2 separate regions of the Homo sapiens genome follow, and region 2 is linked to region 1. The links are contacts of gene promoters, found by promoter capture Hi-C in blood cells and fetal thymus (Javierre and others, 2016). All regions are on one chromosome and are shown on one strand. Each heading gives the region's core, a stretch centred on a gene start or on the middle of the fragment in contact. The rest is flanking DNA. Distances are from core to core; before and after follow the strand shown. Region 1 holds the start of SHOC1 (shortage in chiasmata 1). Region 2 has its middle 22 kb from the start of PTBP3.

What was found. The method cuts DNA at HindIII sites, captures the fragments that hold promoters and counts their contacts. A CHiCAGO score of 5 or more calls a contact.
Region 2: a contact is called between a fragment that was not itself captured here and the fragment with the promoter of SHOC1 in region 1, in 5 of 17 cell types (endothelial precursors, M2 macrophages, total CD4 T cells and 2 more). The highest score is 7.1, in endothelial precursors.

What each region holds. Positions count from the first base shown.
Region 1 is chr9:111,792,868-111,799,511 of GRCh38, reverse strand. It overlaps SHOC1 (shortage in chiasmata 1), which reads left to right and starts at 4,575. Exons shown (of 28, transcript NM_001378211.1): 1 at 4,575-4,612. It overlaps LOC124902249 (a long non-coding RNA gene), which reads right to left and starts at 3,294. Exons shown (of 2, transcript XR_007061734.1): 1 at 3,140-3,294. The HindIII fragment of the contact is 10,914 bases long and covers 1-5,702 here.
Region 2 is chr9:112,352,688-112,358,941 of GRCh38, reverse strand. It overlaps a transcript of PTBP3 not described here. Among named protein-coding and RNA genes, the nearest start is that of PTBP3, 22 kb to the right of the region's middle. The HindIII fragment of the contact is 4,467 bases long and covers 1-4,256 here.

The sequences.
Region 1 (6,644 bases), core at 3,326-5,825:
TGTGTCTGGCACAAAGTATGTTCTCAATAAACATTAAATGTTATTACTATAGCCTTAACAGCACAGCGTGTGAGTACAATAATGAAGTTTGATATTATTACAAGAGATTTCCGTAAATGTGTCGAATTGGTCTGGACAGTAGAGGAATTTTTCTCCTCCTTCCCATCCTCATCTTAGTTTATATTGAAGGGTGTTTTATTTCAACTTGTTTTATTTCCATTTAGGTTCAAAATAACAATGGTGCAAATAATGGTGAATTAAAACTTATAGGGAAAAGCAGTTGTTCTAAGATTCTCATCATATGCACAATTTTAGAAATAATGATGCAGAAACATTATCTACTAAGAAAAAAACATGATTTGGATATGATAAAATTATCTGTAAATATAGAAAGAAAACTATCTTTAGAAATTCACCAAAATAAACACAAAACATTTACAAAACATGGATGACTCAAGAGCAAATATTCCTTTTAGAGAGTGTATGATCTCATTCAGAGTTTGGGCTCTGAAGTCATGCTACTTGGATTTGCAACTCTGTCTCATACTTTCAAGCTCATCTTGGATAAGAGACTTAAGTGGTCAATGCCCCAGGTTTCTCTTATGTAAACTGGAGTTTGTAATATTTGTAAATTTATCTAGCTTATGAGTTGTTGCAAAGTGTTTAGAATAGTGCTTGGCACATAATGAGTGCTAAAAAAAATTTAGCTTTTTTTCTTTTCTTTTTTTTCTTTTTTTTTTTTTGAGACAGAGTCTCACTCTGTCACCCAGGCTGGAGTGCAGTGGCATGATCTCGCTCACTGTAACCTCTGCCCCCCAGAGTTCAAGTGATTCTCTTGCCTCAGCCTCCCAAGTAGCTAGGATTACAGGTGCGTGCCACCACACTTGGTTAATTTTTTTTTTTTTTTTTTTTTGAGATGGAGTCTCACTCTGTTGCCCAGGCTGGAGTGCAATGGTACAATCTCGGCTCACTGTAACTTCTGCCCCCGGGTTCAAGCGATTCTCCCCGCCTCAGCCTCCTGAGTAGCTGGGATTATAGGCACCTGCCACCACATCTGGCTAATTTTTGTATTTTTAGTAGAGACAGGGTTTCATCACGTTGGCCAGGTTGTCCTTGAACTTCTGACCTCAGGTGATCCTCCTGCCTCAGCCTCCCAAATTGTTGGGATTACACACGTGAGCCACGGTGCCCAGCCTGGCAGCTATTTTTAAGTTAGTATTCTGAATGTGGCAGAGATTGCTGTGTATTTCCCAATATATGTTTTTTTCTTATATTAATAATAGAATTTCCAAATAGTAACTATGCACATAACTGTTCAGAATGAACACTGCATCTTCCAGCCTTTGCTGCAACTAGACATCTACTAGATCTCAACATTTTCAAGTATGAAATTGCTAAGAGTTGGTGAGGATATAGAGCAGTACAGACTGTTAAACATTACTGATGGGTGAATCGGTATAATCACTTAGGAAAACAGTTTGGTGTTAGTCAATAAATGTGAAGATATGTATGCTCAATAATCCAAAACATTTTCCTAAATCTATATTCCAGAGAAACATGTATGTGTACTAGGATACATGTACAAGGATATTGTAGCAGCATTCTTTGTAATATACAAGAATTAGAATAATCCAAAGGTCCATCAACAGTTGAATGGATAAATTGAAGTATGTTTATACAACAGGATACTATTGTATCCTATTTAATAATCATCATATATAACTGAAATCATCATATATAATACATCGAATGAAATTGATGAAATTGAATCATCATATACAATAAACATCCACTGAATAGAAGAAGCAAGAACCAAAGTAACACAAACACCAAGATTCAAAAATAGGCAAACTATGTCATTTAGAAATGCATACTTGGGTGAAACACTTTAAAGAAAAGCAAGGCAATGATTACCATAAAGTCAGAATTATAGTAATCTCTAGGTCTAGAGGGAGACTTCCTCTAGGGAGAGTTGTGATTAGAAAGGAAAAGCGGGCTTCTGAAATTCCAATGCTCTGTTTCTTCACTTGAGGGGAGGCTCCATGGACATTTCCTTAAAATAATTTTTATAACTATACATTGTGGTACAGTTTCTGTGTAAACATTATATTTCTATGTGAACATTATATTTTACAATTTAAGTTACATATATATAAAGAGACATTGTGCCTTTGGCCTTTGTTCCTTTACAGTCCTTCCTCCATCCTGCTTCCTGAAACAGAAGCTGCCACCTGAGACCATGAAAACAAGGACCACTACACAGAAATAGCAGAAAAATGAGCTGGTAGGAAGTTAAGACCCAGAGGACTTAGTGGGGCAGAGCTGCCATATCAGTCCTTAACCTTTGTACCTCTGGACTTCATTTACATGAAAGAGAAATATATTTAATATTATTTTGGAATTTTCTGTTATTTATACAGCTAGGCCTGATTTTAACTAATGCACCTTTACACTAGATTTTCAAAAAGACAACCTACCCAATAGGAAAATCACTTGATCTCATACACACACAAACATACAGATGCATACACATATACACACATACACAGCCACATGCATAATTAGACAATTCATGGAAGAAGAAATCCAAAGGATTCATAAACATCTAAAACATGTTTAATCTCAGCAGTAGTCAGAGAAATGCAAACTAAAACAAGATAGAATTTTTCATGCATCAGCCTGGCAAAAATTTCTAAAGAGCAATATATTCAGTACTGTTGGGTATTCAGGAGAATGATGACCCCTTTCTGGTATTGTTAATGTAAACTGCTATACATTTTTGGAAGGAAAAATTGGCAATATTTATTAAATTTGAAATGCTCTTACAATTTCAGCCAGCAAGCCAAAACAAATCTATGCCACAGAAAGTATTCAAGAGCATATGTCCAAGAATTCTTACTGCAGCATTATTTGTCATTGTTTCCAAAAAATTGGAAACAATCTGTTAATCCATCAGTAGTGGAATGTTTAGATAAATCATGGCACGTAGTTACTATAAAATATTATGCAGCTATTTTTAAAAGTAATAATTTTTAAATATAATTAGCCAATCAACGTTGTACATGCATATCTGAATAAATTTGTATGAACATACAACAAAGTGTGAAAAGAATCAACCCAGATTGTTAATATTGGTTACCTGGGAGTTGGGGTGGGAATGGCGATTACTTTCTCTGTATACATCTTTGGATGGTTTTCCTGTTTATAGTAAGGATAAGCATGTGTTATTTTTGTTTTTTGGTTTTTTTTGTTGTTGGTTTTTCTGTTTGTTTGTTTCTGATACGGAATCTTGCTCTGTCCCCCAGGCTGGAATGCAGTGGCATGATCTCGGCTCACTACAACCTCCGCCTCCGGGTTCAAGCGATTCTCCTGCCTCAGCCTCCCAAGTAGCTGGGATTACAGGGGCATGCCACCACACCCGGCTGATTTTTTTTTTTTTTTTTTTTTTTGTATTTTTAGTAGAGATGAGGTTTCACCATGTTGACCAGGCTGGTCTCGAACTCCTGACCTCAGGTGATCCACCCACCTCAGCCTCCCAAAATGCTGGGATTACAGCGTGAGCCACCAGGCCCGGCCAATTTTTGTAACTTTTACAAAGATATTTAATTTAAAATTGATTTTAATAAAAGGTAGACATCCAAGAACACAGGATGATTAATGCACTTCAATGTTAGGTGAATATCTTTAAAACTGATTATTGTCAAACATTAAATCCATATAACCGAAGCAAACTGCACACACCTGTACAAAATAAAGGAAGTAACTTAAGAAAATAAAGTGACTTATCCACTGACATTTCACAATTAGTATTTGAACAATCAACTCAAAAGACACCCATGTGTTAGTAAAGTAAATAAATGCATGTTACTTCTTGCAATCTTCTGGGAAGGAGTTTAATGCCAAGCCGTTTCATGGAAAAGACAGGAGTTAAGAAATATGGAGGAAAGAATAATTATTCCTCATCAGGCGAGTCTGGCGATACCTAAATGTGTGTATGTAAGGGAGTGGCTTTAATTAAGGTATAGAATCCACATGTGCCAATTGAAAAGCAGTATCTTCCTGCCCCTCCTCAAAAGTTCTTCTGCTACCAAGCCATGACCCACACCTAGCCAGACCCCTGAGGCACGTTTGCCTCCTCTCTCTTGCCTTCCTCTTTCCCTGAATCTGTCTGATTGCTAAATCCTCCCACCCTTACCTCTGAAAGGCTTCTGCCCTCGCCCTCCGGCTAACCCTGCCGCGTTTTGCCCGGCCTCGCTAACAACATGGGAGCCGCCACTCCCAAAGAAGTCCGGACTGCTTTGCCGGGTCTTCCCAACCCTTCACAACCAGCTCTTTCTAGCCTCACGCCGACTTCTCCACCGTCACACTCCGCCCAGTGTTATGAGGGTTCTGCTCACTCCCGAGGACCTCGGCGCTGCCCAGGCTGCAGCCTCGAATCCCCACAATCCTTACCTCCCTAGGCTGTGCCCACTCGCGGACGGAAGTGCCCGGAGCCCAAGGGGCGGGGCCTGGTCTGGCCAATGGAAGCACAGAGTGCAGGCTCAGTGGTCACGTGTCCAGCGGGCGGGAATTTTACCCCAGGAAGAGATGCAGGAGGCGATTTTTACCTCAGGTAAGAGCCCTGAGAGGCTGGAGGCAGGAGAGAGGGTGATTTTGAGGGCTGAGGGGAGGAAAAGGTCGTATGGGACCAAAGAAGTATGGCAGCTCAGGAATCTCTGGAAAACGCATCTGTGAGGCCCGGCCGATGTGGCTCTGTAGAGACAAAACCCCAGACCCACTGTCCACTTAACCTGAGAATAGAAGGTGTGAAGGTCTCAGAGATGCTGGTGGGATTTCAGCCCATCAACTAGAAGTTGTATGGGCTAAACAATAAGGGAAAATAGGTGCACCTCGCCTTCTCTGCCATGTTACGTTTTTTTGTCTGTTTTAAGACAGGGTCTCGCTCTGTTGCCCAGGCTGGCGTGCAGTGGCACGATCTCGGTTCACTGCAACCTCTGCCTCCCGAGTTCAAGAGATTCTCCTGCCTCAGCCTCCAGAGTAGTTGGGACTACAGGCGTCCTCCACCACGTCTGGCTAATTTTTATATTTTTAATAGAGACGGGGTTTTGCCATGTTGACCCGGCTGGTCTCGAACTCCTGACCTCAAGTGATCCACCCGCCTCGGCCTCCCGAAGTGCTGGGATTACAGGTGTGAGCCACCACTTCCGGCGGATCTTATTATTTTTTTTTTTTTAAGTGGGTTTTTATGCGAGGGAGTGAAGAAGGCAGAAAGCTCCTGATGCCTTAGGCTGGTGGGGAGAGGTGGGAAGCCAGCCCGAAGATTCACACTCACCTGTGAGTGCTTTTAAATAATCTTGGGGCCTGGCATATGGTGGCTCAGGCCTGTAATCCCAGCACTTCGGGAGGCTGAGGCGAGAGGATTGCCTGAGCTCAGGAGTTCGAAATCAGCCTGGCCAACATGGCGAAACCCCGTCTCTATTAAAAATACAAAAATTAGCCGGGCATGGTGGCACCCGCCTGTAATCCCAGCTACTCGGGAGGCTGAGGCAGGAGAATCGCTTGAACCCGGGAGCTGGAGGTTGCAGTGAGCCAAGATCGCACCATTGCACTCCAGCCTGGGGACAGAGGGAGACTCTGTCTCAAAAAATTATTTGATTAATTAATTAAATCATCATCATCATCATCATCATCTTGGGAAAGCTTACTTCCTGGCCTTGTGCCTGACCTCATTATCGTGTGCATTTCCATTTTGGTCCAGTAGTCCAGTAGATGTTTGTTAGGAAGTAGCACAAAAGAAATAAAATCTTTAGAAAAAGGTAAAAAAAAAAAAAATTCGAGAATTGCTGCAATTCAAAACTTGATAATTTTAAATTACCCTCTCTCTAACCATGATTTTGTTCATTTCCTCATATCTTTGGTTTTAGAAATAAGAGCAATGTATCGTTTTTGCTTCCACCCACCACTATTAGATGGATTCGATATCTGTATTACAATGAAATAAACTTGATAAACGGGATTCTAAGCATGTATATAACATATGGCATCTTATTAAGTAGTACATATTTAGCATGAATTTCAGTGGTTGACTTCAATACAAAAGTAATTATTTCTTAAGGTAATTGGTGAGAGTGATAGAAATACTAGGCTTCACAAGAAAAGAAAAGTTAATATAAATGCTGACAATAAGCTGAATGGGTAAAGTCAGTAAAGTTGAGTTTGTTGTTAACTTTTTGCAATGGCTTTTAGAATGAGACAATCAGTTTTTTCTGAAAGTGCAACACCAAGAAATGGAAGTTCTAGAATCAATATTTGCTTGAAAGATCAGTGACAGGCCGGGCGCGGTGGCTCACGCCTGTAATCCCAGCACTCTGGGAGACCGAGACGGGCGGATCACAAGGTCAGGAGATCGAGACCATCCAGTCTAACACGGTGAAACCCTGTCTCTACTAAATATACAAAAAATTAGCCGGGCGTGTTGGCGGGCGCCTATAGTCCCAACTACTCAGGAGGCTGAGGCAGGAGAATGGCGTGAACCTGGGAGGCGGAACTTGCAGTGAGCTGAGATCCGGCCACTGCACTCCAGCCTGGGGGACAGAGCGAGACTCCGTCTCAAAAAAAAAAAAAGATCAGTGATACACTGGGTG
Region 2 (6,254 bases), core at 774-3,273, 560 kb before region 1:
GATCGCTTGAGCCCAGGAGGTCGAGGCTATAGTGATTGTGCCACTGTACTGCAGCCTGGGTAACAGAGCAAGACTCTGTCCCTGCTCCAGTGCCCCCCAAAAAGAAGATGCATCATTTTCCTTTTTGTGAATGTACTCCAAATTGATTTTACCATTCTCATTTGTGATTGACATTTTTTTCTGGAGATGAGGTCTTGCTATGATGTTCAGGCTGGACTTGAACTCTTGGCCTCAAGTGAGTAGCTGGGACTACAGGTTCATGCCAACTTTCCTGGCTGTTATGATAGACATTTAAGTGGTTTTAAAATTTGTCTTTATTATGAATGGTATTTGCCATAAAAAGCCTTTGTGTATACATCATTGCTCACTAGTCATATCTCCATAGAATACATTTCTAGAACTGGGACTGTTTGCTCAGAGGATATACACACTTAATACCCTTTAGCAAGGTTATGCTAATAATTCATACCAGGATTTCTCAGCCGTGGCACTATTGACATTTTGGGTTGGATAATCATTTTTTGTGGGAGGCTGTCATGTGCATTAGAGTATGTTTAGCAGCATTCTTGGTCTGTACCCACTACATGCCAGTAGCATCAGTGGCACCCTCCTTCCAGTTTGTTTTTGTTTTTTTGAGACAGAGTCTCACTGTCTCCCAGGTTAGAGGACAGTGGCATGGTATCTACTCACTGCAACCTCTGCCTCCCACGTTCAAGCAATTCTCCTGCCTCAGCCTCCTGGGTAGTTGGGATTAAAGGCACCTGCCACCACGCCCAGCTAATTTTTTATTTTTTTTAGTAGAGACAGGGTATCATCACGTTGGCCAGCCTGGTCTTGAACTCCCGACCTCAGATGATCCACCTGCCTTGGCCTTCTAAAATGCTGGGATTACAGGCATGAGCCACCGCGCCTGGCCAAATTTTTTTGTTTATTTTTGTAAAACATACCTAACATAAAATTTACCATTTTAACTATATTGAAGTGTACAGTTCAACGGCATTAAGTACATTTACATTGTTGTGCAACCATCACCCCATCTATCTCCAACTCTTCCAGTTTTGTCAACCAAAAATGTCTCTGGAAATTGCCAAATGTCCTCTGGAGGCAAAATTGCTCCAGTTGTTTACACCTTCTCCAAGGTGAATAAGAAGTCAAAAATGTCGATGTCATAAAAAAATAGAAAGAAAGTCTAAGAAGCTGCAATAAAGAAGAAATGACAATTCAACGCAACACATAATCCTGAACTGGTTCCTGTATAGAAAAAAAAAATTGCTATAAAGAACACTATTGGCAGGCTGGGTGCAGTGGTTCACACCTGTAATCCCAACACTTTGGGAAGCTGAGTCTAGCAGATTGCTTGAACCCAGGAGTTTAAGACCGGCCTGGGCAACATGATAAAACCCTGTCTCTATAAAAAATACAAAAATTAGTAAGCATGGCTGCCTGCGCGTAGTCTCAGCTATTCAGGAGGCTGAGGTAAGAGGATCAACTGAGCCCAGGAAGGTCGAGGCTGCAGTGAGCTGTGATTGCACCACTGCACACCAGCCTGGATGACAGAGCAAGACCCTGCTCAGAAAAAACAAACAAACAAAACAACAACAACAACAACACAAAAAGAACACTACTGGAAATTAACAAATTGGAATATGCAGTAGAGATTAAAGTATTGTATCAGTAATGAATTTCCTGATTTGACAACTCTGCTGGGTTATGCAAGAGAATTTCCACGTCTTAGTATGAAGTATTAAAAGGTAGAGGGAGGCCGGGTGCGGTGGCTCATGCCTGTAATCTCAACACTTTGGGAGGCTGAGGTGGGCGGATCACCTGAGATCAGGAGTTCGAGACCAGCCTGACCAACATGGTGAAACCCCGTCTCTACTAAAAATACAAAAAAATTAGCCGGGTGTGGTGGCGGGTGCCTATAATCCCAGTTACTCGGGAGACTGAGGCAGGAGAATCGCTTGAACCTGGGAGGTGGAGGTTGCAGTGAGTTGAGATCACGCCATTGCACTCCAGCCTGGGCAACAAGAGTGAAACTCTGTCTCAAAAAAAAAAAAAAAAAAAAAAGAGGGAAATGAATATACACCTGCTCTGAAATGAAATGGTTGGGGCCAAATTGTGTGTGTGTGTGTGTGTGTGTGTGTGCGCACACGCAATTGTCTCAAAAGCCTCTTGAGTCTTTCCCTTATATCTCTGACAATCCCACTGCTCCAAAGTACACTGTGGGTTTTCCTCAACTTGGAGCTAGATACCTGGAATTCTAGAAAACAATTCCCTCAGTAGACAATTGCTCCCTTATATGAGCACAAGCAGCGGAGTGACTACATGGATCAAGCTGTATTTCACCATTTTTTTTTTTTGCTCTGTTGCTTTATGTACCACACCAGCCCCACACAACTCTTCACCAAAGAGTTGTGGAATTATTGCATAAGAGAAAAAAATCTTAACTATATGACAACTGCTATGTCACACAGACTGCTAGTGGCTTACCCACTACTTCTTACCAACATTATTTTTAGAGGTGACAATATAACCAGCAAAAACACTGCACCTCCCAGCCACTTTTACAGCCAGGGATGGCCACATGACCAAATTACGGCTTATGAGACGTATGTGGAAGATGCTGGGAAGGACTTCTGGGAAAGCTGCTTTAAAGAGTTTCCAGTCCGGTACTGTGGCTCACACCTGTAATCTCAGTACTTTGGGACGCCGAGGCGGGTGGATCACCTGAGGTTAGGAGTTCTAGACTGGCCTGGTCGACATGGTGAAATCCTGTTTCTACTAAAAATACAAAAAATTAGCTTGGTGTGGTGGTGTGCGCCTGTAATCCCAGCTACTTGGGAGGCTGAGGCAGGAGAATCCATCTAAGAGAGAGAGAGAGAGAAAGGGAGGGAGGAAGAAAGGAAGAAGGAAAAGAAGAAGGAAAGAAGGAAGGAAAGAAAAGAAAGAGAAAGAAAGAAGGAAGGAAGGAGAAAGAGAAAGAGAAAGAAAGAAAGAAAAGAAAAGAAAGAAACTTTTATTTCCAGGTGGGGTGTGGTGGCTCCTGCCTGTATTCCCAGCACTTTGTGAGCCCAAGCCGGATAGATGGCTTGAGTCCAGGAGTTTGAGACTGCCTGGCCAACGCGAAACCCTGTCTCTACAAAAAAATACAAAAATTAGCCAGGCGCGGTGGCGCATGCCTGTAATCACAACTACTCAGGAGGCTGAGGATTGCTTGAACCCAGGAGGTCAAGCCTGCAGTGAGCTGTGATCACGCCACTGCACTCCAGCTTGGGCAACTCCCCAACACCCACCCTCCACAAAAAAAAAAAAAAAAAAAAGAAAAAGAGTTCTTAGCCATTTTGTAATCTTAAGAATGATGAAAGCCATATGCTTATGTAATGGAAACAAAAGAAGACGGGTCTTTGATGAACATGAAATGGAGTGTCATATCAGCCCTGAAACCACTACTTCTGAACTTCCTTTGCATGAGAAATACATTTGTATCTAGTTTATCTTGTTACTGAGTTTTCTGTTGTATGCAGCTGGACCTAACTCTTAAATGATACTCAGTCTGAAGATAAAATTATCACAAGAATATAAACCATCGCAAAGGCCTTGAGCACACCTGGATCCCTACTATTGCCCCTTGTCTTCACATCTGCATTTCTTTCTCAGAGCATTGATGTTGTTCAAATTTCCTTCTTCAACATTTCCTTTAATATCTCCCTCCTCCTTTCAGTAGATTCCAGGCCCCACTCACAGGGGTTGGTCTCATACCAGGATCCATCCTCTTTTCCCAAGCCAAGCATTTTCTCAGGTCTGAATTATTCATTTGATTTAAAATATGGCTCTAGCAAGAAAATCCACGGTGGGTGTGGGTAGTCCAAGTTCAGTTCCCTTGGAGATATTTCCACCTAATTCCTCCTGGTGCCCAGTAAATAACTATTATGTTAAACACACCCACATCTCCCAAAGACAGGCATTAATTCTGAGAAACGGTATTACACTGTGAGTACATGTACGTTTTCCACGCTGAGAAAGAGAAACATTTGACTCCTATAATCAATGTAACTTTACCCCTGCTCACTATCAAGATAGCATTTTATTTTGCAGAACAATGTCAGCTCTTTTTTATCTTCTAGTTTTCAGATTGTGCCTAACCAAGCATTTAAAAAAAATAAAAAGATGTTTGAAATTAGCTTAAAAATCAGGCCCCCAAATTGAGCTATCCATCTCTCTTTCTTGTTACTGCTTTGCTACACCAAGATCAAGCTTTGGAAATACCCCATGTATTTATTCTGTGCCAAATTAAATTTTTGTAGGTGTCATCCTCCTACTACCCTCTACTAAATTAAATTCTTGATTAAGGTCTCATACTCCCACTGCTCCAGAACAGAGGCAATATGAGGACTTATTATCCTCTGATACAAGTAATCCTCCACCCCCAGGGGGGTGGTATGGAGAGGAGGTTTGCTTTTCCAGTTACATAAATAACATATTCTTCACAGAGCAGCTTTCCAGGCTGTATTTTGTTGTTTTGTTTTGTTTTTCTGCTACTGACTTTTTGCTTGTTTGCCTGTTCAAGGCTGAACATTTGCCAGTGCCCTGTGGGATCATCTGCAGTGAAATATTTTTCAGAACCATATTGATACGGGAGAACAACAGCTTCACCCAGTTGTTTGGTAACCCAAGAGCTTTACCACTGACCTTGTGGGCTGTGGTTTGCTTTTTGCACAGGGCTATTATTTCCACTAAAGACAAATCAGGAAACATAAAACAGATATACCCTAACCAATCTATCTGGCTCCTTGTTGAACAGATATGTCAAAAGATTTAGAGGAGAGGTTTGAATTTGTAGCCAAAATGAAGGCTTTGTTGTAGTTGTAAAATAAAATGTATGGTTCCTATTAGTGATGTGGTCTCAGATAGCCGAAAAGGAACTATTTTGTCCATTATAATAGCAATTACAATATTATAAGCATCTATATATATTTTTTTTTTAATGACAGAGTCTTGTTCTGTCACCCAGGCTGGAGTGCAGTGGCATGATCTTGGCTCACTAAAACCTCTACCTCCTGGGTTCAAGTGATTCTCCTGCCTCAGCCTTCCGATTAGCTGGGATTACAGGCGCCAGCCACCACGCCTGGCTAATTTTTTTGTATTTTTGGCAGAGATGGGGTTTCACCATGTTGGCCAGGCTGGTCTCCAACTCCTGACCTCGGGTGATCAGCCCGCCTCAGCCTCCCAAAGAGCATCTATATTATATTTATTTACTTCAAATATCTGTAGACAAATAGAATGCCAAGACAGGAAAAGTAAATCAACTCTATTAGCACAGAAGGCTAACTTCAGGTCAGGGAGCAAGAGTTATACATAACAGGTTAAGTGGAAAAGAGGGGAAAAAAAGGAAAAGAGGCCAGGCGCGGTGGCTCACACCTGTAATCCCAGCACTTTGGGAGGCCGAGGTGGGTGGATCACCTGAGGTCACGAGTTTGAGACAAGCCTGGCCAACATGGTGAAACCCCGCCTCTACAAAAACTACAAAAAAAAGGAAAAGAAAGAGAGTTGTCCCTTTTTCTCTGCTACCTTACTCACAGCTGTCTCTTTCACCTTCACTTCTTTGAAAAGATTAGGGTAACTCACAAGCTAGTGAACTGGTTTGGACTAGGTAAGTTAGGGGAGAATCATGTTACGGGCTGGTGAAAGGAGAGAATCCATGGCTATTTGAGAAGAGTGAAAATATTTTAATGAAAGTCATCAGCTGGGCGCCGTGGCTCACGCCTGTAGTCCCAGCACTTTGGGAAGCCAAGGTGGGTGGATCACTCGAGGTCAGGAGTTTGAGACCAGCCTGGCCAACATGGTGAAACCCTGTCTCCACTAAAAATACAAAAATTAACCAGGCGTGGTGGCAGGCACCTGTAATCCCAGCTACTCAGGAGGCTGAAGCAGGAGAATCGCTTGAACCCGGGAGGTGGACATTGCAGTGAGCCGAGATCACACCACTGCACTCCAGCCTGGGAAAGAGCAGAAGACTCTGTCTCAAAAAAAAAAAGAAAAAAAAGAAAGTCATTAATTGGTACTTAACTTCAAAGGAAGATGGCAGTCTAGGAAAATACACAAAAAAATGAACCAGAACCAAAAAAGAAATTTCAACTATAGTCAAACTATGCAACTGACATGACCCATTACAGACTGTGAAGAATAACTTCAATTTGTACCCAAATCAAGGAAAGCGGTGAGATTTGACAAACATTTCCTCCAAATAGTCACTC